4 separate regions of the Homo sapiens genome follow, and regions 1, 3 and 4 are each linked to region 2. Evidence: promoter capture Hi-C in 16 types of primary human blood cells and fetal thymus (Javierre and others, 2016). All regions are on one chromosome and are shown on one strand. The core of a region is centred on a gene start or on the middle of the fragment in contact, and the rest is flanking DNA. Distances in the headings are between cores, read along the strand shown. Region 1 overlaps LOC107984801 (a long non-coding RNA gene). Region 2 holds the start of NEO1 (neogenin 1). Region 3 holds the start of LOC107984801 (a long non-coding RNA gene). Region 4 overlaps NEO1 (neogenin 1).

Region 1 (5,926 bases), core at 2,011-4,510, 190 kb after region 2:
TCTGCCTCATCCCACTCTGTCTTCATCAACAGCTCTTTCAAGCTCCAGTCATCCCTGGACTTGGCTGAACCCGTTGGAGACTACGGCTTCTCTGATCACTTTTTGGTCCAGCTGAAGCACCAGACTGAAAGCTTGCGGTCTGGTTTCTCCAGTGGATCCCTGGAGGGGCCAATTAACACAACCCAGAAATGGGTGGGAGTTAACCATGAAACAGACCTGGCTTATAAGTACAGAAAGAAGCCACCAGCTAAATCTTTTTCTCTCTACCCCCAACCCCAAAGAAGTGTTCCAAGGCATGGTTCTTCTGTTAGTCCTGTTTATAAAACTTTCCATGTGCCCAAGCAACAGGCTGCATTTTTATTTTATTTCTTTTTGAGACAGGGTCTCACTATGTTGCCCAGGCTGGAATGCAGTGGTGTGATCATGGCTCACTGCAGCCTCAAACTCCTGGGATCAAATGATCCTCCCACCTCAGCCTCCAGCCTCCAAAGTAGCTGGGACTACAGGCAAGCACCACCATGCCCTGCTAATTTTTTTTATTATTATTTTAGAGATGGAGATCTCACTATGTTGCCCCAGTTGGTCTTGAACTCTTGGCCTCAAGCAATCCTCCCACCTTGGCCTCCCAAAATTGCCTGCATTTTTAACGAAGTTGTGGCTAGCTTGGTGCAGTCACTTCCTAGTGCTGCCGTAAAAAAGTACCACAAACTGGGTGGCTTGAAACAACAGAAATTTATTCTTTCACAGTTCTGGAGGCCAGAAGTTGGAAATCAAGATGCTGGCAGGGCCATGCTACCTCTGAGGGCTCTAGGGGAGAATCCTTTCTTGCCTCTTACAGCATCTGGGGGCCCCAGGTGTTCCTTGGCTTGTGGCAGCTTTACTCCATCTCTGCCTCTGTCTTCAAATGGCCTCCTCCCCTCTGCGTGCCCTTTCCTCTTCTTATAAGGACACCAATCATATCCCGTCTAATCCAGCTAGCCTTCCTCTTAATATAATTAACCACATCTGCAAAGACCCTATTTCCAAATAAGGGCACATTTGCAGTGCTAGGAGTTAGGACTTCAACATATCTTTCTGAGGACACAATTCAACCCCAAACACTCGGTAACACACCATCTCATGTTTGCTTCCCTCCTCCTCTGCCCCATGTGCCTACTTCTCTTATACTTTGCTACCCTGGATTTGTACCACCCAATACAGCCTTACCATAGGCATTTTGTGTAGGGATTTATTTTCTAGGAAATTTGTGTAAAGAAAGACTTGCTGAGTTTGCAACATCCAAATGAAGATATCTATAATTCTGAAATGCAGGGTAAAGGTCTGGATGGGAAAACATAAATAGGAGCTTTTATGGTAAATATCTGCTTTGTGCATCCTGTATTCCTCTCCCTTCTTCTGGCAGTAGCACTCTTTTTTTCTTTAGGGATCTGTTCTTCCACAATTCCATGTGGTCCAGGGGGGCTGGCAATTCTTACTACCCCAAATTCATTCAGGTCCTTTGAGTCAGCATGTGACTCCAGTTAGATCAACCACTGTCCTTTCCCAGGAATGGGAGAAGAAGTTCTTTCTTTCCTCCAGAGTAGTTATCTAGGATGCTAAAAGGCCGAGTCATTTATGATCACCCTGTGCCCTCCCCAGACTCCATGAGAAATCCTGTGCAACAGAAGAGAATGAGGCCAAGACAATGATAGAGACAGGGCTGGAGTGGAAATGGTGGGAGAGTGATATGTTTTGGCTGTGTCCCCACCCAAATATCATCTTGAATTATAATAATCCCCACATGTCAAGGGCGGGCCCAGGTGGAGATAATTGAATCATGGCGATGGTTTCCCCCATACTGTTCTCGTGGTAATGAGTAAGTCTCACAAGATCTGGTGGTTTTATAAATAAGAGTTCCCCTGCACAAGCTATCTTGCCTGCTGCCATGTAAGATGTGACTTTGCTCCTCAGTCGCCTTCTGCCGTGATTGTGAGGCCTTGTCAGCTATGTGGAACTATGAGTCAATCAAACCTCTTTCCTTTATAAATTACCCACTCTAGGGTATGTCTTTATTAGCAGCGTGAGAACAAACTAATACAGAGAGAAAGAGGCCTGACAACATCATTTGAGTCCTTAGATCCAGACATGCCGAGTTTCACTCTACTTCTAAACTAGCCTATTATGCTAGCCAAACATTTCTCTTTAGTTTTGCTTGAGCTAGTGTGAATTGGGTTGCTGTCATTTGCAACCCAAAGTCCTGACTATATAGATGTCATCGTGGTTAGACGCTGACAGAGCCTGGTCAAAGTATGAAGGCTGACAAGAGCAGAGGGCCTAAGGAAGGATCCCAAAGGGCAGGAACATTCAAGCAACATTCAGCAAAAGCATTAAAGGAGACAAAAAATTAGTGACCAGAGAGATGGGAAGAAAATAGGGAGAGTGACAGAAGACAAAGGAAGTGAGACTCGGAAGAAGGGAATGGTCCACAGTGCCAAGTGCAGCTAGCGGGTCACACAAACAGGAAATGGAAATGCCCATTGGATTTAGCAGAAGCATGTCCCAATGATTTTGAGGAAATCAATCTCAATGGACAGGATGGGACAGAAATTTAATGACCAAGTGTTGAAGAGTAGGCATGGAAGGGAGTGAGACAATGATGGCAGAAAACACTCAGGAAATGTGGTTGCGAAAGAAAGAAAGGAGATGACAAAGGGGGAAAGATGGAAAGTAAAGGAGAAAACTTGAGGGTTTTTTTTTTTAAGATAATAAAGCCTTGAACATATTGAAATGTTGATGGGAAGAGACCAGCAGAGAGGTAAAGCTTACAGATATAAGCAAGGGAGGGAAGAGTGGTCCCTGAAAAATGAGAGAAGGGCTCAGATTTATCTGTGGTGTCAGGAGAGAGAAGGAAAATATAGGTGCAAGTTCAGAGAGGTTTAGGTTTGATGGCAGGAAGTTGGGGCATTCGCAAGGTTATTGCTGATGGTGACAGGGGCTGCAGGGCAGCAGGCAGGGGAATGGTGGGGTTGGAGTCTGAGAGAAGAATTGTAATGGCCTGTGTGGAGCAGGAAACAGAGGCCATTAGAGACATAGAAAGATTACTAGTCATGGAGGGAACTGTTGGAGACAATGAAGTTACAATGGCTCCAATGCACATGGCCATGGGAGGCTTTGGGGTAGTGCTCAGCTGTGTCAATATAGGCACAAAGACAGCAAATGGCTGGAGTATAACAGAACTGAAGGACAAGGAGTAGAGGCTCTTGGAAAGCTGAGTAAAGATGGAAGGGAAGAGAGAAAGCAGCCCTGAGAGGCTTGAAGTAGAAGGTCTAGGACTCAGATAAAAGCGGGGACTCCTACCTGGTAAGTCCCCATTTTTGCCTGGGAGGCTGAAGAACAGGTGAGAAGGGCATGTAACAGCTCAGATCACTCATGCAGCCCCTGTCTGACGTGGACCAGAGACCCACTGCCTGCCCCGCTGCCACCTGCGCTAAGTCTGTCTTCACAATCTGTCCCTGATTTCACAACTTCTCCCCCCACGCTCTGCACATGGTCAGCTGTCTCCTTCCCTCCTCACCCTACATTCCGCATCCTTACTGCCTCTGGGCCCTTCCTCATGTCCTCCCTATCCCGGCCCCCTTATAACTTCTCCATACACACAAACACACACACACTTTTTGCCCATTCAAATTCTCTCTTACCCTCCAAGGCCCTGGTCAATCCCCTCTCCTTAATGAAGCTTTTATCAGCTATTCTGATTTCCTTTTCTGAATCCCTGGGGCATTTATAAAAGGTATCTCAGCATAACTGTATAACAGTCTCATGGTATCTGTTAATCGTCTCATTTGTGATTTTGGTCTTTGTAACTAGATTATGAGTTCCTTGATATGCAGAGCTACTTGGCCATTGAAGATAGATAGATGTTGATGGATGGATGGATGGATGGATGGATGGATGGATGGATGGATGGATGGATAGATAGATAGATAGATAGATAGATAGATAGATAGATAGATAGTAGATTTTATTAGGGATTAGATAGGTAGATAGATGACAGATGATCTGCATTAGGGAAAATTTTCAATTTCTTTAACTATGGGGCTACTTGCCAGGTAGGAGTCCCCACTTTTATCGCCTTTATAGATGGGCCCCAACTTATTATGGTTGGATTTAAGATTTTTCAACCTTAGATAGGTTTATCAGGGTATTAAGTGCATTTTCTTTTTCTTTTTTTTTTTTTTTGAGATGGAGTCTCACTCTGTCACCCAGGCTGGAGTGCAGTGGCATGATCTTGGCTCACTGCAACCCCTGCCTCCCGGGTTCAAGCAATTCTCCTGCCTCAGTTTCCTGAGTAGGTGGGATTACAGGCGCATGCCACCATACCCGGCTAATTTTTGTATTTTTAGTAGAGATGGAGTTTCACCATGTTGGTCAGGCTGGTCTCGAACTCCTGACCTCATGATCCACCTGCCTTGGCCTCCCAAAGTGCTGGGATTACAGGCGTGAGCCACCGCGCCCGGCTGTGCATTTTCAACTTACAATATTTTTGAATTACAATGGGGTTGATGGGGACATAACCCCATCATAAGTCAAGGAGCATCTGTACACGCAAACACACAAAAACACGTGGACGTACAACATGCTGGGTGCAGGGCTCAGGGACGCAGGGACTGAGGCCATGTGAGGATTCACCACTGATTATTCTAAAGGCATCCCAACTCTGCTTTTCAAACAAGACTCCAGCCTCACCTGGCCCCCTCCCCAGTGAATGCCTGTGACTCTGCTAGTGCCAGTAAGAACTTTCCAGACCAGAAGCCTACTACCCAAGCTCTTGGGACGGAAGCAGTGGCTCCACGGAGGTGACAGGCAAAGAACAACAGCCTTGGACCTGCCTACAGGAAGCGTCGGAAAGACAATCTTTCTAGAAGACTGGCCCGTGCTGCTCATTTCCACAAAGGAGGGTCATGGGGCCTGATGGAAGAGCACCAATCTTCCCCATATTTTGCCTACGGAGAGCAGATTTGAGAGAGAACAAGGTCTGAGAAAGCAAGAAGCAAAACGCCTGCAGGTGTCCCTCGACTATCCTTCCCAGGGAAGCCAGCTCTAGACTCCGAATAGCTTCATTAGGCCCAGGACAAGGCAGGCCCTCTGGGTTAATGATAGGGAGAGAGGAGAAGAAATGCAGGTTTTCTGGACTTTGACTTGTCAATAGCCTTCACTCCACTCCCCACCCCTCAATAAAGGATACTGTGCTACTGCTGGAAGATCTGCCTGGCTTAGAGTCTCTAAAAATTAGCCCGTCCCCACACCAGAAATGTGAGCCTCTTCTGTTACAGTTTAAGTGGTGGTCCTCCTTATAGAAACAACCCCCAGAGAAGGGCCCTGTGAGCCGTGGGCCAGCAGAGGCTCCCCTCCAGAGCCTAGGGAGGCTGGGACAGGGCAAGTGAGGCAACAGGGGAAGGGTGTGCACTGCCACCTCCCAATGCTGCCCTAGTGGAAGCTCCAGGCCGAGAACAGTTCTCTTTTATTTCCTCCACGCTGGCCAGGCCAGGCCTGCAGCTGACAGCAGGAGAGGGGCTGAGCCACAGAAGCACAGGCGGCCTTCTGTGAGGCAGACCTGGGTGGCTGGGGGGTGCTCGAGGGACAACTTCCCCTGCAATTGCCCACCCTTGCTGCAGCTCCTTAGCCTTAACACTTAGTCTCTGTGATGAGATCACTGGGCAGTTGGTAACTCTGGCCTTAGTGGTGACACAGAAACGGACAGGAGGGCCCATGAGGATGATGGGCTCAGTGACAGGCCAGGGGGTGGTTTCCAAGTGGGCCTGGCACTCTGGCCTGACACAGTGAGATTTTTGGGTGCTATCTACCTGAATGGGGTAGTAAGGTAGCAAAAATAGAGAAAGGGAGAGTACCTTTCAGAATGTGTGTGTGTGTGTGCATGCATGCGTGT
Region 2 (6,279 bases), core at 908-3,407:
AGATCTCAGTTCTTGTGAGACACTCTTAACACCCAGACTAGGTTATGTCACTCCAGTACCCACTTTGTGAAAACCTATTCTCCTTTGTAGTGCTTATCACAATTACTTAATTATATAATCAGTAGATGGATGGCTATCTTTCCTACCCACACACCAGACTGTAAACTCCATGAAGGCAGAGAGCATATGCCTTGCACCTCATCTGTGCAAAATAAAAACCTGTCAATTGAGTTAATGTTGAAACAGATGTTAAGACCACTTCCTGAGACTGCTTGCATTATTTTTATTATCCTAAGTAATAAAATTACTAGCATTTTAGTTACTTACAAAATTATCGGCAAAACTTTAAACAAAAACTTGAAATTTGGTGAACTACATATGAATTTCCATATAAAATAGATCATGAGTAACAGGAACTTGTTTTCCAAAATAGTTATATTTCTCTTGCTCATCTAAGAGACAGTTGGATCAGTAACCTGCATTTCAGCACCAAAATGTGTTCTAAACCATATACGGACTGAATGTATAAGGGTACATCATGACATAAGTGATGTTTAATTTGACATTAAAACACTATTGTTTACGTAGCTGTTTAGAGAATACCGAGTGGTACTTTACGTTTAAAGCTGTTCTTTAACATTGGCAAAAGCCATGAGCTACATACACACTCTGCAAGGAAATGAAAAGTTTATCAGTCAAGTTACCTTGCAGTGTGATTTTAAATATTATTTCATATAAATCAGGGAAAAACAAGTACTGGTTCAGCGGTAAGACTGCTTTCAAATGTAAAAATATCATATCTCACACGAGTGAAAGTTTTGTCAAGTTTTATGGTACACCACCTTGGTCAAATAATTTTAACAGATTACATGCTAATTTGCCTTTCAACTGCTGAGTGTATCCTGCTCAACAATACCGTAAGGTCCTTCCCGGAAGGCTTGGCATTTTTGTTCGTTGGTCCCCTTAATAGGAATGCAGGTGGTTTCAGTAATCTATAATATTCCAAAAAAGAACTGAAAATGGCTTTTGAGGTTCAATGTTTATACAATGCCATCTGAAAACATTGTACAAGTACCTAAAATCTGATGCTTAGACAATTCCCTTGGTTAAGAGTGGTTAATAGGCTGTAAATATAGTTGTAATCCCCAGGAAAGAAGAGGCATTTCATAACGGAAACACTAACAGATACGATCACTCCGAGCCGCTCTCCAAGGCGTCCTCATCGTTAAATCAACACCAGGGGTTGTGAGCGGGCAATTGTGCCCCTCTGACACCCCCGCTCTTCCGCAGACTCGGGCTCCAATCCCCGCGCGAGGAGTCCCTCGAGACTAGCCAGCTCTTCCTCGAGACTTCGGAAGCTGGGAAATCCCTGGCCAGGGAACCAGGAGCTCAAGCCCCCTCCCCTTTCCTTTCCTGAAAATTAATGAATTGGCCGTCTGATTGTTTATTTAATGAGGTGTGTAGTGGCCTCTACTGGTGCTAGTGTGAGCACAAGAATGTCCCACTCTTACAAGTGGGATGAGCCTGGGGGAGGGGAGAGAGGCGAGGGGTGAACCTGCCTCCAGGTACAAAGCTGGGAACTAGACCCCTGCGCCCCCGACCTGCCCCCCGGCAGCCGCCCCTTCCCCGGTGGCGCCCCCTCTCGCCCTTCTCCTCCCCACCACGCGCGATCCCCTTTCTCTTCGGCAACCGGAGCCGAGGCAGAGAAGTTCCTGCACGTTTCCTCCTGGATCCTAAACAAAAACACCGCAGCCGCGGCCGCCTGAGCCGGTGCCGCGCCCCCGCGAACCCCCGGGCCCGCGCCCGCCGCTTACCTGGGGACTGCGGCGCGGAGCCGCTCCTGGCGGCCGCGGCGCCCGGCGCCCGGCGCCCGAGCAGCAGCAGGCAGTAGAGCCAGAAGGAGGGGGTGCTGAGGAGTCGCCGGGCTCCCCGCTCCGCCGCCATCTCTTCCCCGAGAGTGAGCGGCAGCGGCGGCGACAGCGCCGCGGAGCCCTTGCCTCCTTCCCTCCCGCGCGCCTCAGCCGGTCCCTCGCTGCAAGCTCGGCTCCCGCGGCCGCCGCTGCTCCAGCCCAGCCCGGCCCGGCCCGGCCCGCGCAGCCCCTCTCGCTGGAGGGGAGACTCCAGGGCGCCTCCCTCCTGCAAGGGGGCGGGGAGGGGAGGAGAGCGAAGAAGGGGAGTCAGTACATTCCGGGGCGGGGGGGGGGGGGCGGTGGGTCGGTCTCCAGGTTCCAGGCGCCGCCACCCGCCGCCGACTCCGGCTCCACACACCAGCGCGAGGGGGGCGGAGACCGCGGACGGCGGGGGCGGGGGCGGGGGCGGGGGGCGGGAGTCCCGGGCGCGCACACGCGCACGCGCGCGCCTCGCCCGCACCCCCTCGGCTCCGCGCGCGGCCCGCCCCCGCTCCAATCCCGGCTGCCGCCTCTCGGGCCGTGGCGGGCCCGCTCCCCTCCCCCTTCTCCCCGGAGCCGCTGACGGGTGCGGGGCGCGCGCGCCGGGCGCTGCTGCTGGCGTCAGGGAAACCCCGGAGAAGCGGATCCTCCTGCTCCTCCCGCCCGCTCGCCGCAGCCCCTCGGCTCCGCGCGCCCCCGCCTCCTCCTCCTCGCCTCGGGGACAAATTCCCCCCTCACCTCCCCAGATGCCTCTGGCTGCAGAGACCTGAGGGCGAGAGGCGCTCCGAGCTCAGGCTGGTCCGGGAGGCCGGCGTGGGCGCGCACCTCTGCACAGTCCGGGCCTGGAGCCTCTATATAGGGCCTCAGAGGAAACCGAAAGGCCTCCGGGAGGAAACCTGGGTGCGCAGTGGGTCGGCCCGGGGATTTATGTGCTCGCCAAAAACAATAGCGATCCCGCCCGACTCTTGCTGGGCCCTGGCGCGGCTCCCGTGGGAGGGGGCCGGCCGCGCAGCCGCTGACCTCCGGCTCCCAAGCCGGGCCGCCGTCGCCGCGCGCTTCCCCCGGGCAGCGCCGGGACCCGCCCGAACCGCGCCCCCACCCGCATCGCTCGGCCCGGGTCCAGGGAACTAGGCACAGACAAAGGTGCCCGCTGTCCACTTCCTCAGCTCGTGCGGGGGCCCCGACCGAGCCCTGGGACTCCCCGGGGCCAGTCTTCTCGCAGTAACTGCTACGTTTTACCTGTACCTTTGCGGGACACTTGGCGTTTTCCTACCTGGGAATCACGTCTTTCGCTGATAAACCAAGGAGCAAGTGGGATATGATTTTAAACCACTTAGTAATCGTGAGGCAGCACCCAGGCTACACAAAGTTAGGAGAAAGCAGTTTGTAGTTCCACTGCTGATGAGACTATTGATCATTTTATATACTGCACCCATGAAAAATTTTTAAAGAAAATTTATTTGTATGATTATGCAAGCAGAGTCACGTTTGGTGGTTGATAGGCGTTGGGTTTTATTCACTCTTCTGTGTAGTCGATAACCGAAATGTCTTGCTTCCCACAAGAAAATGGCTATTTCACTAACATATCCCTCTGTGCTTTCTCATAGTTACTTTCCAAAGATATTTTATTCTAAAGCGCCAAAATGAACAATGTAAGACATGGATTAACGTCGGGAGGGAAGAGCTCAGAATCTTCATAAAACCTTAAATCATCAAAACGGTGAAATTAGGAATTCTCATGCTAGTTCTTTGAAACAATTGACTTAATAGAGGAAACACATGCTTATGGTTTTTCACTAGGGAAACCATTTAAATACCTTTTTGTTTTGGTTAGAGTTGTTAACCAGCAAAAATATTTCCTAAATACCCGTGATTGACCTGTTAAATTAGAAATAGATTACCTCCCAATTACTTCACAAGTATTTGCTTAATTAACCTTTAATAATCACATCATTATTCAGTTTTCTGAGATAATTAATGAGAAAAGCTCTTTGAAAACTGTAAATTGCCTTGCAAATGTTAATTTCCTGATATCTTTTCTAAGTCTGGAAAAATTTCATTATATTAAACCTATAACGTGTAATATGACTTCTGAGATGAAGCTTACATTTATCTCCAAGTTTTGAAAAATACATGAGTTGTGGCTAATAACAGACTGATTTTCATATATGACTTATATGAACTGTCTCACTAATTTATCAGCCCACTGTGTATATCAGGTTAATATCAAAAAGTTTAAAACAGTTGTATATTTCTGGCTTCTGATTAAATCACAATTTTAATAAAACCCACTCTATTAAACCACTAGTAGATGGAGCCCCAGATTAAAGCTACAGATCCTAAATCAGTTCAAGATAGTTAAGTAACTCAGGCACACACTTGAATTCAGCTCCTTTACTTTGTTTCAAAGTCACTGACACTGTCGACATGCCCTTTAAAAATCATCATTGAGTAATTAACCTGTTCTTTGTTTAGTAAAGCATATCTGAGAAAAGATTTTCTTAGGCATCTCTTTTATCATTCTTATTCTCCCAACAAGATTTTCAACAAATACTTCAGCCTGCACGTATACTGCTAATCAACACTTTTATGTTGTCTAAACTATCAATCTATGAAGAGATATTAAACCACTGGTGAAATTAACAGTTTTTTCATCTAAGTAAAGTTAGAACATGAGGCCCATGTTCAAGGAATAAGTGCACAAAGAAACTTTAGAGCAAAGAAAACAGAGTGGCCATTGTGTGTCTGTAAAAGTTATCGAAATGCAGGCCAAAAATAACTAGACTGATATCTTGTGAAATTTATGCTAATGTATTTTGATATAAAAATTACATGAAATATTAAAGCCTATGAATATAAAACTTGGTAGGAATCTTATTCTCTATAGTAAAAGGATTTTTTTTTCAACATTAGAAAGGACGTACAATTCAGTGTTTAACTGCTGGCAGTAATGAGATTCTGCAGCTGATTCCCTGGCTGAATCCCAGTGTCCGAGGTTGAGAAGAAGAAAGCTAGTCCCCTGACTAGCAGATCTCAGGATAGAACACTTCCTAGTCACAGCAGACTTCAACTAGAAGTTGCCCCAGTCTTAAGAAAGTGATTTTCTTCTGCACAGAGATTGTTATTTTTATATTTGCCCTTTACATTCCACTAGGTAAGAATTTTTATTTTCTCCCGTTCTCCTTCAGAAGCCACCTGCTCTAGGGAGCCATCTCTGATTAAGCGTAATTAAAAAGGATGTGTGCTCCTTTTTAAGTACAAGCATGCTCAATATTAATTTTGCTTGTCACATGTTGCTTAGTTGATCACATATCTTTAGTTCAACAACAATCTATTAATTCAGCAAAAATTATTGAGGACCTGTTTTCACCAAGTATTGTGCTGGATGCTGGGATAACAAAATTATTGGTTCATTCATTTAATATTTATAAAGTACATCCTGTGTCTCTGGTCCTGGCTTATGTTAAGGGAAGACAGTGATGAGCCAGATAAACAAAGTTCCCAGTCTAGCAGAAAGGGTAAACAATTATAACAAAGAAGTGTAAAGACTGTTATGGTAAGGAAAGATAAGGAGTGTGGGAAAACTTAGTAAGAGCATCTAACTTGACTAAATTGTGTGTGGGGGTGGGAGAAGGAGAATTAGAGAAGCTTTGGCCTCTAAACAGAGACCTGAAGGTAGATAGGAGTCAGCCACGCCTACAGGTGGGATTTGACCTCAGATTTGCGTTTTAGAGGGAACACTGAGGCTGCTTCTTGGAGTGTAGTTTGGAAGAAGTCGAGACCAAAAAAAAAAAAAAACAGTTCAGATTTTGTTACAATAGTCTAGGGAGGAGATGATGGTGGCCTGGAGTAAAGCAAAGGGGATTAAGAAAAGTGAACAGATAAGAGAGAGATTTAGGAGATAGATAGAAACAGCAGGGGTGTGTGGGAGAGATAGGAGATGTGGGTAACTCAGATTTCAACTTGGGAAGCTGAATGAAGGTGGTGGCATTCACTGAGGGGGGAATGAGAAAGATGAGCAGATGGGAGACAATGTTAGTTTAACTTTGGACAAGGAAATTTAAAGTACCTATGCATACATAGGTACTTTAAATACATCTGAGTAGAAATATCAGTAAGCCGTTCATTACTTGGATCTGGAGTTTAGCAGGGAGATAGGACTGGAGAAGTGAGTCATCAGCATACACTACATATGCCTGAGTATAAGGTGCTTCTGAAAATAAGGTGAGCCTCCATTTTTCCAATTAGAATCCACCCCACTCCCCCAGGCCCCTCGGCGGCTCACACCTGTAATCCCGGCACTTTGGGAGGCCGAGGCAGGCAGATAGCTTGAGCCCAGGAATTCAAGACCAGAGTAGGCAACAGGGCAAAACCCGGTCTCTACATTAAA
Region 3 (6,852 bases), core at 215-2,714, 220 kb after region 2:
CCCTGTGTTTGAATCCCAGCTCTGCCCCCTATTGGCTGTGAGATCCAGGAGAATCACTGAGTACAGTTTAAGTGTGAGCTCCTCTGAACAATGAACTGCCCTGTGGATTAAATGACACAGCAAGAGTTTACCCTTAGTGGGTGCCTACTCTGGGCCAGATGACTTTTAGACATGATTTCTGATCATCAGAGGCAGTGCTTTTTAAATTTGAAGGTGCAAAGAATCACAAGGATCACAAGGAATGTGCAAGGATCTTGTTTAAAGGCAATTTTGATTCAGGAGGCCTGGGGTGAGGCCTGAGATTCTGTACTGCTAACAAGCTCTCAGGATGCAGCTGGTCTACAGACCACTCTCTGAGTATCCAGGCTTACATATAAATACATGAGGTAGGTCAGAGGTCACAAACTCAAATCCAGAGGGCCAGCAGCAAAACTCACTCTGAGCAAGAGGTGCTGGTGGGACCATGGCAAACTGAAGCAGGGATGCCTTGTCTGAAGGAGGTAGCCCTCTGCAACCTCACAAAAAGGTGGGCTCAGCATTGCCAAATATTTCCCCTCTTTTCCCCCAAAGAAACCAACATTCCAGCGTTCCTGATTGTAAACAACAAATTCAACTTTTAACAGCTTCATTGAGGTATAACTGACATACAACACACTCCAGATATTTGAAGTTTACAAGTTGGTAAGTTTTTATATTTGTAAACACCCGTGAATAAACTCAATTTTTTCAAAAAAAACCACTCAGTCAGCTGACTAAACATAGTTGCAGATCAGATAACAGGCTGTAAACCTCCAATTGCATCCTCTGAAATAGGACTAGTACTTCCACTTTAAGATGTGATCACTGAGAACTAGAAAGGTGAAGTGACCATCCTAAGGTCACACAGCCTGCAAGGAAGGTGTCAAGGTTCAATCCTGGATCTGACTCCACAGTTCATGCCCTCCTCCTTCATCCTCTGCCACCAAGGAAAGTCTCTCATGTCACCTGTCTCTGGGACTATAACAAATAAAGGATGACTCCCTGCCCCCTTCTCCACTTCTCATTCTCAGGAAATGATCTCTAAAGTACAAAGGCTCAGCTCACACATGTAACCCTAGAAGAAGTAATAAAACAGGTTCTGCTGAAATCATGAACACTCCTAGAAAATGGATCCAACTCCAGAAGTCTCTGTTCTGACTCCCAAAGCACAGCTCTGGGGGGCTCTCTGCAGCCTAATGACTCCTGTGGGAGAGCCCAGGTCCCCAGAACACACATAGAGGGCAGGAACTGACCAAAGCCCTCAGGGAGCAGATTCCAAATCAGGGAGAATGTTACTTCAGCTACAAGTAACAGAACGCCTCAACTCAAAGTATCTTAGCATGTAAGAGGGTTTATTACCTGATAGATCAGGAAACACGGAGTTGGGAAGACAGGATTCCAGACACGGTACTTCAGCACTCTGACTCTCTTCTCAATGGTTTTCTGAGAGTTGCCCCACTCTGTGTATTGGCTGGAAGCAAGGTTGCCACAGAAGTTCCCAGGCATCACAGCTGGACAAAGAAGAGAAACCATATTTTCCTGAGCTATTTATTAGAAGTGAGGAAACGTTTCTCAAAAGTCCCCCTGCAGACTTCCCCTCATGTCTCCTGTAGTCTTTCCATGGCCTGAACTTCCTCACACTATGGAGATTAGGTTCCAAGGGCAAGCACTGAGAGAGAGAGAAAGAGAGAGAGAATATAAATATGCAAGTGGGACAGATGTCACATCTCCTTTCATGACCTAGCCTCAAAGTCATGCAGCATCACTTGCACCACATTTAATTCATCAAGGCAGTCACAAAGGGCCATCCGGCTTCAAGGAGAGGAGACACAGAATCCACATCTTGATGGAGCAGTAGCAAGTTCTCAAAAAACAGGAAACAGATTGTGGCCACTTTGGGAAAATATAATTTTCCACATAAAGGGATCTCATCGCTGTTTGCCTGGCCCCCCTCACACAGCTCACTCCCATAGCCAAGTCTTACTGGGCAGGATGGAGACCACCTGTAGAACACTCCTGCAAGGGTTCCCTTGTCAACACCCACATTTCCCTGAAATGAATGGCTGGTTTCCCTCGGGACTACAGTTCTAACCATGGCTGATGTTGAGAAAATCTTACATGTAAATCTCCTGAAACAAGGGGCTAATGTTGGCCATGGCACTAGAATTTAACACTTCTGTCTTGAGCTAGACTCTGTTGTCTACTCTTGTCAGTCTCTGTGTTGTATCTGGGGACGAACTTTCTCATCTCAGAGGCCAGAGCCTCCAGTTTGCTTTGTTTAGTGCCAAGTTTGTCCAGATACTGTTGATACTAGTCTGTTTCAGAATTTTACACTTATTTGAACATTTACTTACTTTTACTAATCTCTACTGCTAAACTCTGAGCAGTTAATACTCTACATAATATCTAGGTACCAAGGTGAGCTTTGTCTTGTAATGATTACAGAGGATTTATGAAAGACAGCTCAGGCCAGTCTCTGATGTCTTAAGTTTCCTCTCTAGCTGGCTAACAAGATATCTATGTGGAAAGGGGAAGTACAAAACACACTACTTCTTTTTCAAAGTCCTTATCACAATTGTAAATAATCATTTGGAATAATTATGTGTTTAAGATGGTCGTACATAGGTTCTAAAATCCCTATCAGTCTTGTTCAAGCCTAGCTTGCCTGGAACATGGAAGGTGTTCAATAGATGTTTGCTGAATATTACAGGATAGAATGAAGCAGTAGAAATTAGGAAGGTAGCAGACCCTGTTGGTCACTTCCCTGTCAGTTATTCCTTCTTTCTTAGCTGTGGCAGGCACTGTAAGCCTATGTGAGATAACCACACAGGGCTCCATCAGTAGCTAAAGCAAGTGCTGTGTTGATGACATTGTAATATATATTAAATCATATGTTATTTCCTCAATTAATAGATTGAAGGTAAGGGAATAAACAGCACAGCCTCACACCCATTCTCTTCCTCTCTGATGTTTCCTTCTTAAGAAACAAACACATGGCTTCATTACCAACAAGCTTAGGATAAATTAATAGGAGCTGAAATCCATGAAATTAGATTCACTTTTCTAATTAGCTGGAGAGTTCACAGATACCAGGGCGGTCTTTATCACGGGCTCTCTTCTCCTTGGGATGGGGATAGGCATTTGTGATCTCAGAAAATTAAACCCTCCCCCCTTACATTCTACAAAAAAATTTCTGATTGAAGTGTAAATGTGAATTTCCTTTGGCCACCTGGAAGATCATTTTGAAGTTGTGAATCTTGAGCAAATTGCTCATTAATTCCACCCTGTGTTTGAGAGATTGTGTGATACGCAATTTCCATTTTCAAAGGAATTGTCTTATACTAATAATGTCCTCAGATTATTTGGCACCCTCCATGGAGTTCAAAGTGATTTTGAGACCTTTTGTCTTTAATTCCCACATGCCAAAGAGAGAAAACGGGGGGCCAGGAGAGAAAGTAACTGCTTTCCAGATAGCCAAGTGAAGGAGGCTGAGGTCAGGGAGCCAGGGGCCAGGAGAGACAGAACAAAGTTGTCAAGATGACCCAGTGGGTCAGTGGCAGCCCCAGAGAATCCCAACTCTTATTTCATTTTCTCCTCCAGCCAACCAACCACCCCAATTATTTCCTAAGATTCTGAAACTGTCCAACAGACCCATGAGGCTCAAAGCAAGGACTCTGGAGGCCTGGCCCTGCCTCTTCTAAGGATTCACTACATGACTAAAAATGGCAAAATTTGCCCAGTGAAAGAACGGGCTCCCTGTCCACAACAGCTAGATGCCCAGTTTCCAGGAGTCCTTTCATTCACGCATGCATTCAGTTATATGACAACTTTTTATTGAGCACCTACTATGCACCAGACACTGTTCTGAGTGCTGAGAATATAGAAGTGGATACATGAACAAAAATCTTTGCCCTCACAGAGGCTATCCCAGTGGGGAAGGCAAACAATGAACAAAAGAAATAAGTAAAATATAAGTTTTGTTAATAGTGATAAATGCTAGAAAGAAAATAAAGCAAGGACAAGGGACTTAGTGTCAATCCCAATCAGGGTACAAGATGGGTTGAATTTTTAGTTGGGATAACCCGGGAACACTGCACTGAAAAAGTCCAGGAAGAGAAGAAAGATCACAATGAATACTATGGAGGGTATCACAGCCTTGGACCAAACATGGGACCAGGTATTTCCTACAGTCTCTTCTGAAATAAATTCATTCCTCTCTCACGCATCTATGCAAGTATTCTTCAGAGGGTTGTAGGAGTTAAGAAATTAATGAATATTTGTACAGGGTTGAATAGTGTGCCCCCCAAAATGCATGTCAACCCCAGGACCTCAGAATGTGACCTTATTCGGAAATAAGGTCTTTGCAAATGTAATTTGCTAAAATGACATTATATTGGTTTAGGGTGGACCTTCTGGTATCCTTCTAAGAAGGCCATAAAGTGACACAGAGGACAAACATGGGGAAGATAGTCATGTAAAGATGGAGACAGATATTGGAGTGAGGCAACTACAAGACATGAAATGCCAAAGGTTGCCAGGGACCACCAGAAGCCAGGGAGACGCATGGAACGTGTCCTCCCTCACAACCTCCAGAAGGATCCAACTCTGCTGACAGCTTAATCTGGGACTTCTGGCCTCCTGAACTGTGAGATGATAAACTTCTATTGGTCTAAGCCACCTAGTTGGTGGTAACTTGTTACAACAGCTCTAGACAACGGATACAGATTTTGGTACCAAGAAGTGGTGCTGCCTAAAATATGTAAGGGCTTTGGAATTGGGTGATGGGTAGAGGCTGGAGGAATTTTAAGCCTAGACTGTCGAAAGAGATTATCAGTACAAATATAGGCATTAAAGTATACTCTGGTGAGGACTCAGAAGGAAGAGCACAGCAGAGAAAGCACCTATCATCTTAGAGAAAATGTATATTGTCATGAAAAAATATCAGTTGAAATATGAACATTAAAGATCTTTGGTGATATCTGAGATTGAAATAAGGAGCCTATCATTGGAAACTGGAGGAAAGAGTGGCAAAGAACTTGGCTGAGTTGTGTTTTAGTGTTGGGTGGAAAATAGAACTGGTAAGTAACTTGGATATCTAGCTGAAGAGATTTCCAAGCAAAATATGGAAGGTGCAGTCTGGTTTCTCCTTGCTGTTTTTAGTAAAATGCAAGGGGAAAGAGATAAATTGAGAAGGAGCTACTAAGCAAAAAGGAACCAGAACTTGATTATTTGGAATATTTTCAACTCATCCATATTATAAAAGATGATAAGGCATGCTCTAGAGGAACACCAAGGGTGTGGCTGAGCAATCTTCTGGTGCCGTTAGATGTACAAATTACGGATCCAACCAACCATCTCAGCAGGAGCCAGGAATAGAGATGGGGCTACCGAGGAAGGATCTGTAAAGAACTCTGTGTCTAATGAAGTGGATCCTCTTAATATACACAGGAGACCCACCAGGATTTTGAGAATGTCATGTCACCAACAACACTACCAGCTTGGGCTAAATGGAACAGAGACAGGAAAAAATGAAAGAAAGCTGCCATTATTCTGGGATTCTATAGGCAGGAAACCAGCCAATAGAGTGATTCAGCTGTGAACATGTATTATCCTTCAAAAAAGGAAAAGATGACTGGGGGAACCCATCAGGGCTGCCTGTGCTTCCCCTATAGAAAGTGTCACCCAAGATATTAGGGCTCCTGTGAAGCAATTCTTGTTCCCTACATATAGCACAGAAGCAGGGGAACATCAAGGAACCACAGAAGCAGAGACTGATGGGGGTCCTTAGGTGTAGTTCCGTGGGTAGAGCTTATGTTGATCCAAAGACTCAGGAATTAAAAAGTTATTTGACCTCGACACACTTAACATACCATACCAAGATGGGGATAGAATATCCCTCAAGAGAAACCCCCATCTAAAAGGCGGGGGTAGGCTAGGCACAGTGACTCATGCCTGCAATCCCAGTATTTTGAAAGACTGATGTGGGAGGATCACTTGAGGCCAGGAGTTCAAGATCAGCCTGGGCAACATAGCAAGATACTGTCTCTCCAAAAAATAAAATAAAACAACAAAAAATAAATTATCCAGTCATGGTGGCATGCGACTATAGTCCCAGTTAGGAGGATCACTTGAGCCCAAGAGTTCAAGGCTGCAGTGAGCTATGATCCAGCCACTGCACTCCAGCCTGGGTGACAGAGCAAGACCCTGTCTCTAAATTAATTAATTAATTAATTAATTTAACAAAGGGGAGAGGCAAGTGGGAGGTACATGTAGTCACTATTCCATAGTGATTTTGAAATCTAGCTGGGCAGATATTATCAGTTCCCTCTACTCTAAAGGCAAGGAGTTTTCTTTGACTAGGACCTATTTTGTGCTTCCTGGGAGTGATTTCCTAACCTATTGTTCTCTTTGGTTCTTGGCTTCATACTCTGGGCTCCACTATCTGAGACATCTCCCTTTTCAAAAATGAATAGATCCTATTTACAGCTGGATCTCTGTTTTCTGCCTGTAAAAAGTTGGAAGCCTAGAGATCGTTTTTCATTTTGTTGTTTCTGTCTTTTTATTTTTATTTTTTGAGACAGAGTCTGTCTCTGTCACCCAGGCTGGGGTGTTGGAGTGTAGTGGTGTGATCATAGCTAAGTGCAGCCTCGAACTCCTGGGCTCAAGCAATCCTCCCACCTCGTCCTCCTAAGTAACTGGGACTACAGGTGCACGCAACCACAGCTGGCTAATTTTTAAAAAAAAATTTTAGTAGAGACAAGTTCTCGCTATGTTGCCCAGGCTGCTGGTCTCAAACTCCTGAGCTCAGGCCATTCTCCCACTCCAGCCTACCAA
Region 4 (6,008 bases), core at 37-2,536, 190 kb before region 2:
CAGGAGAATCGCTGGAACCTGGGAAGCGGAGGCTGCAGTGAGCCAATATAGTGCCACTGCACTCCAGCCTGGGTGACCCAGCGAGACCTTTGTCTCCAAAACAAAACAAAACAAAACAAAATAAAAACAAACAAAAAAACCCCCATCATTTTGCTTCCAAGATCGCCTGAGATGGTGAAAACCTTTTTTTAACTCTAATGGGCTTTCCAGTACTATGAATCATCTGCTTGTATTATTTGTCTCTTGGGATATCTTTTATTTATAATTTGTAACTTTGTTACTCTTTCCTGTTATGGCTTCTGGATTTGCTATCTCCCTTTAAAAGCCCTTTCCTGTTCTCCAAATGATAAAAATCATTTCTATATTTTCTTCTAATATATTTATAGATTTTAAAAATATTTATCTCTTAATCCATCTATAATTTAAGACAGAGACATAACTTTTATTTTTCCCACCAAATGGATAATCAATCTCAACATGATTACTTGAATTATCTATTATTTCTCCACGAATTGAAATTAATGTATTAACTTAATAAATATTTACTGAGTGTTACTAAATGCCAGGCTCTGTTCCAGGTGCTGGAGAATTTTATTGAACAAGACAGACAGAATAAATAAGCTAATAAAAGAGAAAATTTCAGAGAGTAGTAAGTGCTCTCAAAAAAAAAAAAAAAAAAAAAAAAAAAAACCCAAACTAAAAGCGAAACAAACAAAAAAATACCACACACATACCAAAAAATAGGGTGATGTGACAGCAGTGGTGTTCTGGTGAATGTTTAACAATTGGCTCTGGTTTGCAGCATTTGTCACTGTAAACACTCCCACCATGCCCAATTTCAAGCTGCCAAGTCATGTCATTAGGTTTGCAAAATTTCCCGAGCATTTAACAATTAGCTTGGGAACAGGCTGGCTCTGATACCCCACTGTGTGACAGTCACCGAGGGGCTAAGTTTGGGTTGGTATTCAGGGAAGGCCTGAGGAGATGTCATCTAAAGATGATAGATAAGAAGCCAGATGTAACTCATGTGAGGAAAATGCATTTCTGGTAGAACGCACAATAAGAGCAAAAAACCTACTGCAGAAATAAAGCTTATTACGCAGAATTACTAAATGGTTTCTTCCTTCTGTGAAAGCTTATGAGATTTTCAATGAGATTTCAAAGTCTATTGAAGATATTTTAATGGTGATATTGAAACTTGCTGTTTGGTAGGAATGTCTTACCTTTTTTTATGTATAGAACTATGTTTCTCTACCCTTGTAAAACTCAAAACACACAGTATAGCATTCAGGTAACTCCCATCTGTTGGTGTTAAATTATGCCACTTAGACTTCTTGAGAGTATTAAAGAAAGGGTCCTGCACTTGCTAAACTTGCCAGTCTGGTATTAACTACAATGTACATCAACTATAAGCATGCTAATGGAAATACAAGCTTTAGCTGATGTATTAGGGCTCCTACTAAAACACGTATCTTAGCTTTCTTATTCTGGTTGGAAGAGCACAGTGAAGGAATTTACTACTCGGCAATGTGTGAACAGTCAGCATGTGGCATGGTTCCTTCCAAAGAGTTTATAATCTGGTTGGGAAAACAGCACAAATACATAGAACATAATTGAAGAATAACAGCTTAAGGTAGTAAAATATCACATATTACCATAATCAAGTGCCAATATTAGGGATACAAATACACGTACAAGGGAAATGCTCTATGTGCTGAAAAGGTGGGTAAAGATCTTTGAGAGCTTCATGGGGCTTAACCTGGGCCAAGAAGGATTAACTGAATTTACCTTCAGCTGAGAAAGGGGCAAGAAGTGACTGAAGAGGACACACTGGAAAAAAAGGCTATAGTGATTAGACTGGTTTCACTAGAAAGTCAGTTACATTGGGGAAAAAGGAAAAGCAAGTTGGACAGATAAAGTGAAGCCAGCCTGTGGCACAAAGCAGCCTGGACATTATAGATCTTCCCCTATGAGCAATGTGAGCTCCTGAGGGGGTGGAAATGAAGAGGAATGTAATGAAAATGCTATTTTAGGAAAAGTCATCACTAACTACTCTTATTCCATCAAGGAGAACCCCTGGAGCTCCGCAGCCCACACCACATAAGGGTGTGGCAAATATTCATTTAAGTTTACTTTAATAAATTAAGTCTACCTTAATCTCTAGAATTTATACTGACTGAATCTTATGAAAAAAGGGCACTCCTTCTTACATTTAAATACGTCCACCTCAATAGCTGTATCTACCCTCTCCCTAAGTCATCCCAGAAAAGGAGAGACTACCAGGACTTTAGTCTGTTTGGGAGTTTATTTAATGACCTAAAATTAGGGAAGGTGCATCTCAGTGATCTTATTTTCTGGACTAAAAATTGGTACAGATACCAAGAGCCAGGGTGAGCATGACAAGGCTGCCGTGACCAAGAGGCAGCCAACTGGCTGCAGACACACAGGCACTTACCTAGCAATCCCTTCCTTGGTGTAGAACACAGAGTAGGTAAGGTTGTCTCCGTGAGGATCTGATGCAGGTGTCCGCCACGTCAATTTGATGAAGCGGGTAGAGACCAGGGAGGCCACGACATCCCGAGGAGCTGAAGGCAGTGGTCCCGTTGTGGCTGGTGCTAGATGGTCAGTAGTGGCACTGGTCAGTGAAGTGGGAGGTAATGTTGGGATGGCAACATCTTGTCATGTGCAAACATTGGGGAATATGAAGGGCAAACCACGACGGTTTTAAAAAAGAGAACAGAAAAAACAAAAAACAAAAAAGAAATAAACAAAACCACGATGGGAAATAAAATAAAATGAATGAACATAAAAAAGGCCATTAAACTGAAGGCTAACATGCAGGCCAGGGTAACTACTGAAAACTAATGGGCACTATTCAAAACACATCACTGTAGAGCAAGCAGACTTTCTGGCCACTATAATGGTTATGGGCAAGGGACAAGGAGGGTGACAGCTGAGAATAAAACTTCTCACAGAAGGCACAGCAGTGCCCATGTAATTTTCTTAATCCTGAAAGCAGCATGCAACATCTGTCAAACTTTGCATAAAAGTCTTGCAAATGACAAGACTTCACTATTTTCTTCTACTTTAACATATGGAATAGTATGGATGACCCTAGTTACACTGAGAGGCTCATGGCTATTGTGACTTCACTGCAGAGCTCCTTTGCAGGAGAATTGAGGGCCACATCTTCAACTTTAGTCTAATATTAAACCCTGCACCTCTGTATTTGGTAATCCTGCGGGGGAAGGTTGATAAACTTCTTCATTGTAAGTTATACCTTGCTGTTTTGTCAATTCATTTAGCTAGGACAGTATAAAATCCTGAACCAAAAATTCCAAAGCCAAAAAATTGCAAGTCAGGTAGCTAATCTGTTTGTTACACTCTTCACTGCGATGTATACTGAAACAGCTTGCAGACCTCAAGGACTGGATGGGAGAAAGGAAGCAGTGGCGAGGCAAAGCTGCTAGTCAAAAGCCACTTTTGTATAGCGGTAGCCATGGGTAACTTCATAACTTCCAAGGCAGCCCATGCTACTGATGAAAAACAAAAACAACAGTCCTGATAGTAGAATTTTATTCCTAATATTGAACCTAAAATCTCTTTCACTTCGGAGTTAGAGAGTACAAGTTTAATCTCACAATTTTTAACTGAAAGACTTCATCAGAATCATGTTCGAACATTAAAAGGGAAATTAGTAGGAGAGATGTAGAGAGGAAAACATGAAAACCGTGAACCTAGTTTTGAATGAAGTGGTGGAGCAACAACCTCCTGGAAATGTCTGTGAACTGCGAGAGTGTAATGTGATGCAGTCTAAATAAATACGCCACGTGAAATAAATTATCTATCTCAGGGAAATGGCAAAGGAGGACCAACCTAAAATCTCTAGATAGGTGGAAAGGGAGAAGAGTAATCCAATAGCTACCACTTCTTGAATACCTTACATATGGCACTCTGGCTCTCTATATAGATCATTCAATCCTTACAGCAGCTCTATAAAATAGGTACAATCATTATCTCTAACTTATATGTAGAGACTGACATTGCTAAATCACTTGCCCTAGGTCACAGAGAATGAGTGGTGGAGTGGTATTAATAAAATCAACTTTGGTTTTCAGTTTAAAAGACCTCTGGATATAGCCAAGCAGAGTCTGAAAACTTGACTTCCAGTTCTTGTGCAAATCACAAAAGAGAGCCTTGTTCTCTCTCATGCTCCCTTTTTTTTTCTCCTCCCTTGGTAGTGCTTTTAAGAGTGCAGATTGTTATAAGAATGTAAGATAATGCAGTTTTAGCCCCGACGTTAAGTACATGCTTCACTAAAGCAAGTGTCAACACTACAAAACATTAACTCTGAATGGTTGCTGAGGCCTTGTAGTACTGTACACATCAACAGATGCACTGCCTTAGAGGAAATAAATACCTCTCATTCACAGCTTTCAGAGTTTGTCTTTATATATTTTGTCAGTTTACTCACACAATAACCCTATGAGGTAGGCTGGAAACGATAGGATTAGATGCTGAGATAAAGGTTAGGAAGGAGTCAAAGACTTCCAAGTTACTAGCTTAGGAGACTGTGGAGCCTGAGGTGTCATTAACAGAGAAGACAACAGATTGAGGGGGAGATTATGAATTTGGTTTTGAATATGCTGTGTTTAAAGTCACAATTCAACACCTATGGAATAAATGAGATGCAAATGAAAATATGGATCTCCGATTATTGTAAAATTAAAAGTCATTAAAAACCCTTATTGGGAAATGATTCAAAAAGTAGCCTGAACAGTCTTGCTTTGCAGCCTCATTTGCATGTCCATCTAGAAACACACTAAGCTGCCTCCAATTCTGACCCAACTCACCAAACTTAATTCTTCCCAACTATCTACTGGCTAGAGAGGAGAGAAAGTTTGCTGTGTGAGAGGCAGCAGAGCATACCGGAAAGAGCCCAGGACTTCGAGTACAAAGACTTATGTTCAAAACTTGACTCTTCTAATATGCGAGGTTGGGTAAATCACTCTGATGTCAGTTTCCTTATCTGTAAATTAGGAATAATAATGCTCCCTACCTAAACCCCAAGCTGATATGAACCAGACAAATACCAAACAAGAAAAGTGCATGTGGAAGCTCTGCGTACATGTTATTTACTATGACTAGCTTGAATGAGTAACAACATAAGGATTTCAGTAGGAAAGCAGCTGGGGAGGGAATGCAAGCAGGGAGGACGAGGTGATGGGAGTAATGAGTGATAACAGAATCACTTAGATAGGGAAAACTCAGTTACCCTACTGAACTTCCATAGCACAGATCTATAACTCTTTAACGGCATCCAGCACACCCTATTTCCATTTTTCATGTTTACATTGTATTACTTCCACGAATCTATAAGCTCCTTAAGGACAAAATATGTATCAATTTCATCTGGGAATCACTCAACATGCCTCTGTATACTTTAGATAACCAAGTGTACATTTATTGAATTAATAAATGGAAGGAAATTCAGGGAGAACATGAGTACGATGAAGACAATGTTTCTAGAATCTCATTACAAAAGGCAATATTTTAATCTCTTTGGTTGACACAAAGTGTATATAAATAACATTTATATAATGATATACCATTTGTAAAGCAAATGTTTTATTAGTTATACAGGGAATAAAAGTATAAAAAATGCCTGATCATTGTAAATCATTCCTAATTAACCATGGGAAAAATCCATGCCCACTGTGGCCCCAGTGTTCTCTATCAGCTTTCCCCAGGTTGATTCTATTGCTGCTGTTCCATATCCTAGCTGAGCAGGTAAGAGAAAGCAACTTATGTTATCACAGAGTATCAAACAGGCAGTTAAGTTACACTAGCATCAATGGCAAGATGATGTAGATTGGGACTTTAGACTCCTGGCATGATGGTTTGAGACTGACAAATCCTCTTCCCCCAAAGCAACTATAAAGCGGAAAAAAACTGTCAAAAACTGGAAACTGACCAAAGACATATAACAAGCTGAGAAGCATCTGTTC

Evidence for each region. Contacts are between HindIII fragments. The CHiCAGO score rates a contact against its expected background, and 5 or more counts as called.
Region 1: a fragment that was not itself captured here is called in contact with the fragment with the promoter of NEO1 in region 2 in 1 of 17 cell types (endothelial precursors); the score reaches 5.1 in endothelial precursors.
Region 3: a fragment that was not itself captured here is called in contact with the fragment with the promoter of NEO1 in region 2 in 1 of 17 cell types (M2 macrophages); the score reaches 5.6 in M2 macrophages.
Region 4: a fragment that was not itself captured here is called in contact with the fragment with the promoter of NEO1 in region 2 in 1 of 17 cell types (megakaryocytes); the score reaches 5.1 in megakaryocytes.

Annotation. Positions count from the first base shown.
Region 1 is chr15:72,858,801-72,864,726 of GRCh38, reverse strand. It overlaps LOC107984801 (a long non-coding RNA gene), which reads right to left. Exons shown (of 3, transcript XR_001751596.2): 3 at 5,145-5,926. Among named protein-coding and RNA genes, the nearest start is that of ADPGK, 78 kb to the right of the region's middle. The HindIII fragment of the contact is 915 bases long and covers 2,803-3,717 here.
Region 2 is chr15:73,048,341-73,054,619 of GRCh38, reverse strand. NEO1 (neogenin 1) reads right to left here and starts at 2,157. Exons shown (of 29, transcript NM_002499.4): 1 at 1,815-2,157. The coding sequence starts at 1,944. RefSeq lists silencers at 1,838-2,217, 2,448-2,767, 2,858-2,927, 2,988-3,037. The HindIII fragment of the contact is 4,913 bases long and covers 1-3,993 here.
Region 3 is chr15:72,828,625-72,835,476 of GRCh38, reverse strand. LOC107984801 (a long non-coding RNA gene) reads right to left here and starts at 1,529. Exons shown (of 3, transcript XR_001751596.2): 1 at 1,378-1,529. RefSeq lists an enhancer at 1-447. The HindIII fragment of the contact is 3,138 bases long and covers 1-3,033 here.
Region 4 is chr15:73,232,954-73,238,961 of GRCh38, reverse strand. It overlaps NEO1 (neogenin 1), which reads right to left. Exons shown (of 29, transcript NM_002499.4): 8 at 2,456-2,615. Among named protein-coding and RNA genes, the nearest start is that of MIR12135, 64 kb to the left of the region's middle. The HindIII fragment of the contact is 298 bases long and covers 1,138-1,435 here.